Linked DNA regions of Homo sapiens: region 1 is linked to region 2. Evidence: promoter capture Hi-C in human tissues and cell types (Jung and others, 2019). All regions are on one chromosome and are shown on one strand. The core of a region is centred on a gene start or on the middle of the fragment in contact, and the rest is flanking DNA. Distances in the headings are between cores, read along the strand shown. Region 1 overlaps CYB5A (cytochrome b5 type A). Region 2 holds the start of C18orf63 (chromosome 18 open reading frame 63).

Region 1 (2,823 bases), core at 84-2,583, 53 kb before region 2:
ATCTAGAGTTCCAAAGTTTCGAACAGCACCCATGACAGCTCTCTGTACATGCTGATGTGCACACACATTTATTAGACTCAGATTGCGACACGTAATTCAGGGAGGAGCTGAAGACTGATTCTTCCCTTCTGTCCTCTCAAATTCCATTTGAGATTGTGCATGTATCTCTTACGTGTATGATATCTTCAGTTAAGCCCTGCAGTCTCCCAGTTTTAGAGTCATAAACTATTTCAACTTCAGGCTGAAGCTGTCAAAAATACAGTGTGTTTAAAGGCTGGCCAGGGGGAAGCCCAGTGGGCAGGTGAAGCAGAAGTGCCACAGTCAGGGCCTGAAACCTGACCCACAGCTGGAAACAAGGATGGGATCAGGCATGTGTAACGGCAGGCCTCCCTGATGACCCTAAGACACTTTGCCTTTGTGAAGTATGGGATGAAAATATCGGGGCAAATAAACTTGTCAGATGAATGAAGCTTACTCCCTCAAAGTACATATCTCCTACCACCAAAAACAAAATCAAACAAACCTCCCAACTCAATGAAGTTGTTCTCAAATGGATTTCCTACTTTCGAGCCTTCTACAAAGAACCTAATGTAACCTCTTCTTCATTCACAGTCATTACAGGGATCATCAGTGGTATACGATAAGACTTTTCCTATATTCTTTAAGAGTTTCTCAGTTTGCTCACTTAGAATGAGGCTATTTGCCTCTCCATTTTTTTCTTACGAGAGCAGAGCGGGCTCCTAGCAGGTCTTTGTCCCCTTCTGGCGGGCTGCTAACCATGCACCACAAGTGGGAAGGCAGGACGGAGCCAGGCACTCCCAGAGGTGGACAGGGCAGCTGAGTGTGCGGCCCCAGGATCCACTCCAGAAGCTCAGAGCGCTCGGCAACTTCTTTCCAAGTTTTCAGCGATTTTCCTGATAACTTAGGTTGACAGACTAGTAACATTTAACATGGTCATTTACAACTGCCACAGAGGGGTCTAAAACCGTAACACAGCACAGTGTTTATAGAAAAGCCAAATTAGGACTAGGTGCGGTGACTCACACCTGTAATCCTAGCACTCTGGGAGGCCTAGGTAGGTGGATTACCTGAGGTCAGGAGTACAAGGCCAACCTGGCCAACATGGCGAAACCCCATCTCTACTAAAAATACAAAACAATTGGCCAGGCATGGTGGCCTGTGCCTGTAATCCCAGATACTTGGGAGGCTAAGGCAGGAGAATTGCTTGAACCCAGGAGGTGGAGGTTGCAGTGGGCCGAGATCGCGCCACTGCACTCCAGCCTGGGCAACAGAGCAAGACTCTGTCTCAAAAAAAAAAAAAAAGAAAAGAAAAGCCAAATTAGGCCAGTGTTTTCCAAAAGTTGGTCAATGAATTGGTCCAGAGCTGATATTCTCGAAGGTCTGGGGTACAGTGAGTAGAATATGGACAATGTGCTAGTTCTACAGAAGGCAGAGCTTATTCATTTCACATAGCTCCGTTTTTATATTTTTTAAATCATTTTTTAGAACTAAAATATCCTTGGCCTAATGAAAGTAGAAGTGGGGTTCTTAATAAAAATATTTTGGTCAGAAAAGGAAAGAAAGCAATGCTGGGTTGATTCTCCCCACCTTGTAAAACGTGCTGCCCCATGGAATTTCTAGGACTGAGCAGACTCCCCAGTGCATGGCTGTGGGGTGGAGCCTGCTGACTAAAACGAAGTGCCAGTAAACAATGCAACCAGGCCAGGTGTGGGGGCTCACGCCTGTAATCCCAACACTTTGAGAGGCCGAGGTGGGTGGATCGCTTGAGTCCAGGAGTTTGAGACCAGCCTGGGCAACACGGTGAAACCCCGTCTCTACAAAAACTATGAAATTTATCAGGCGTGGAGGTGTGTGCCTGTAGTCCCAGCTACCAAGAGGCTGAGGCAGGAGGATGGCTTGAGCCCAGGAGGTTGAGGCTGCAGGGAGCCATGATCGTGCCACTGCACTCCAGCCTGGGTGACAGAGTAAGACCTGTCTCAAAAAAAAAAAAAAAAAAGCAACAGTGAAATGCAAAGACATTTTTGGTCAATTTATTTATAACAAAAAATGGTGTCCTAAAATCAGGAGTTGTTTTTGCTTTACTCCTTTTAAAATGTGTATACATGCAAGCTTACAGACTAGGGTAAGGTCATCTGATAGCCTTAAATACAAATAAGAAAGGGCCCCCAAAATGTACTTACTGGATGGAGCTCCCCAATGATGAATGTTTTGGACATTTCCCTGGCATCTGTAGAGTGCCCGACATCCTCAAAGTTCTCAGTAGCGTCACCTCCAGCTTGTTCCCTTAAAACTTCTTCCCCACCAGGATGCTGTTCAAAGGAGAGGTAGAATAAAAATTTTTTTTTCAGGCAAATGAATTAAGAGAAAACGGCCAGAATTTATTTAACCAAACAGGTGACTCCTTCAGAAGACACAGATGACAACAGGAGACTAACTTGTCCATAAATGTGGATTAAAACAACACAGGCCTTTATATTCCATTTCCATCATGCAAGTACAATAGGCCTAGGCAGCAGAATCACTTGGGCCCAAGTTCAAAGCCAACCTGGGCAACATTGTGAGACCCCATAACTATAAAATACAATTTTAAAAAATTAGCTGGGCACGGTGGCATGCCCCTGCAGTCCCAGATACATGAGAGGCTGAGGTGGGAGGATGGCACAAGCTCAAGGGGCTGAGGCTTCAGTGAGCAGTGACTGCACCACTGCACTCCAGCCTGGGTAACAGAGGGAGACCCTCAAAAAGATAAAAGTAAAAAAAAATTTAAAAACAACCTTTCCCGGCCGGGCACGGTAGCTCACG
Region 2 (2,770 bases), core at 33-2,532:
CCCCAAACTTGCTCCTCTTAGTCTTCCCCTTTGTAATTAATGGCAACCCAATCCTTCTGAATTCTTAGTATAAAAACCTTGGAGTGATGCTTGATTCCTCTCCCTCTCTCTCAGATCCCACATCAATCCATATCCAAATCCTATTAAATCTAATTTCAAAATATATCCAGAATCCAATCCCATCCCATCCCATTCCCTCCACTGCCACTGCTCTGATCCAAGCCACCTCTCTCCTTATTGCCATTGCCTCCTAACTGCTTTTCTTCCTTTCCCTGTCCCCTTCAGTCCATTCCAGCACAGCAGGCTGGATGCACCTTTAATACTTCCATGGCTTATCGGGCCTAACCCTGTCTGGCTCTCTGTAACTCCTCCTGCCTCACGGAGCCACTTCTTTCCTGCTCTACTGCAGCCAGCTGGCGTCCCTCCTGCCCTGGCCTTTTGTAGGATTCCCTCTCTCGTAACAAACATTCTCCCCCGAGACATGCACGAGGCTGCCCACTCTCACCGCCTTCATGTCTTTCTCAAACGTCCCGTTCTCCACGAGGCCTTCCTGACCACGCTATTAAACCTAACGACTTCTCCTCGGCACTCCCCGCCTCCCTACCCTACTTAATTTTTCTCCAATGCACCTATCACCATCTGCCACACTAAGATTTTGCACATTTATCTTGCGTATCTGTTTTCCCCCAACTACCAAGTAAAATGTGCATCCCACAAGGACCGGGAATGCTGTTTGCTTAGTGCTCTATCAGCAGACCTTAGAAACGCATCTGCACACAGTAGGCGCTTCGTGGATTTACTCCCACGAGCTTGCACCACGCTTCCCCTCCACACCAGGCATGAAGATGTTCCAGTCATGGAGATTCCCACCACTAAAGGAACTGCAGAAGCTGTAAATTCGGGCATGAGAATCTGAGGAGAAACGTGCCGAGGCAAGAGGCTGGGTAGCCCCTGTGCAGCACGCAGTTAGCCGGGGCTTCAGCGCCGGAGCTCCCCGTTGGACGTGTTGCGCTGACCCAGCTTTCCCGCCTTCGAGGGCGGCCAGAACCTTGTGTCCCGGCCCCACCCACACCAGCTCAGGCTGAGAGAATCTCACAGGGCTTCACTGGGTCATCCGTGACCAGCTTTGGTCGGTTCCTGCCTTGGCGGGAAAAGTTGACCTACATTGCGTGCCAGGAGCGCAAGGCTTGCAGGGCATGCTGGGAGAGCGCAGGGAACGCTGGGAGAGCGCGGGAAATACTGGGATTGGCTCCCGAGGGCTGTGAGGAGGGCACGAGGGGACACTCCGATGAAGGCAGGGCACGCGGGGCGAGCCGGGAGCGTCTCCTGAGGGCAGCGAGGAGGGAGCTGAGGCACGCGGGCTCTCAATCGACGCCCCACAGAGACCAAGAGGCCTGGCCTTGGGGGGCAGCTGCTTGAAGGAGGCAGAGCGGAAGCGAGGGAGACTGCTGGAGGCCCTGCCGCCCACCCGCCCTTTCCTCCCCCTGAGGAGACGCCTGACGCATCTGCAGTGCAGGAGGCCGTGGGCGTTAGAAGTGTTGCTTTTCCAGTTTGTAAGACCATTTTCCTGATTCTCTTCCCCACGGTTGCGGAGGAGCAGGTCAGGGCCGCCATGAGGGCAGGATCCCGGTGCCGGCGCCGGCACCCTGAGGACGTTGGTTTGGGTCAGGAAAAAAATGTATTCATCTGCAAAGACCCATGAGTCCCAATTTTTCGGGCATTTCATTATATCGGAAATTTATAGAATCACCTTTTAAAATGGATTTAGCTGAACAAAGACCTTAGATTCGTTTCCACTCACGTCCATTACTGTTCTCACAGAAGCCAGGCCGGAAGAGGGGTGGGCGCTCGCCTGGGGGCAGCGGCAAGCCGGGTCTGGGGCCGCCCTGAACCCCGCGCCCCGGGAGGATTTTTAGGAAGGGTCCCTCGTAGCGGCGGTCCCGAGGCTTAGCGCACAGCACTGCAGGAGCTGGGCGCTCCCAGAGTTTTGGTCCTTTGGGGTTCTCTGAGTCCTCCCTCACGTGTAGAATTGCGTAGGTGCCTGTTGCCTGCTCCTAGCACTTGTTCCTTGCCCTGCTGGGGATTGGGAATAAAGATGAAATCCTGGGACAGAAACGTAGTGGAGCGACTCCCTGGACAGGATGTTAATAGCGCATCCGTAGATCATAATAAGGCTTGGCCCACGTTTTGAGCTTCACAATATAGTTCTACAGCCTAGCCAAAGAAAACAACATTCTTTTTGAATCTGCAAGTTTTGCCAACTAGGAACTCACAAAATTAAACAATAGTAATAATTCTAATAAATTCATGCTTATCCCTGAACAGATCACTCTTGTTTACATACAGTGTTGCAATCCGTGAGTATTTGAAGATTGGCAAAACGGGAGGACTTGCACCCAGGAATTTTTTGGTGACCTGGAATTTACATTCCTACTGTATTACATTCCTGCTGGCATTGCCAGCATTCCTCAGATGACACCACAAACTCATTTCAGTACTGTGATCAGAAGGCTGGTCACACTGCACATTCCCGGGCCAGTATATTATTCTTTCTTAAAAAGAAAAAGCATGTTGATGTTGAAAAGTTGAAAGTACTAGAGTCCAGCTTACTTTTCCCTAATGTATTTGTGCATGTTAGTGTACTGAAGCTTCACTGGGTTGCTTTACTTTTATATTCCAGTTTTTGTTACTGTAGTAAAATGTAATGTAGACTTCAAAGGTATACCTTATGAATTATCAACTGTAAACTGTGCCTCCAATAGAATTTGAA

What was found. The method cuts DNA at HindIII sites, captures the fragments that hold promoters and counts their contacts. A contact is called where the count stands out against the background at its distance.
Region 1: a contact is called between a fragment that was not itself captured here and the fragment with the promoter of C18orf63 in region 2, in 1 of the 25 tissues and cell types used here (thymus).

Annotation. Positions count from the first base shown.
Region 1 is chr18:74,261,148-74,263,970 of GRCh38, forward strand. It overlaps CYB5A (cytochrome b5 type A), which reads right to left. Exons shown (of 5, transcript NM_148923.4): 2 at 2,202-2,330. Among named protein-coding and RNA genes, the nearest start is that of CYB5A, 29 kb to the right of the region's middle. The HindIII fragment of the contact is 4,034 bases long and covers 1-2,823 here.
Region 2 is chr18:74,314,557-74,317,326 of GRCh38, forward strand. It overlaps C18orf63 (chromosome 18 open reading frame 63), which reads left to right and starts at 1,283. Exons shown (of 14, transcript NM_001174123.2): 1 at 1,283-1,553. RefSeq lists an enhancer at 1,491-1,660. The HindIII fragment of the contact is 6,586 bases long and covers 1-2,770 here.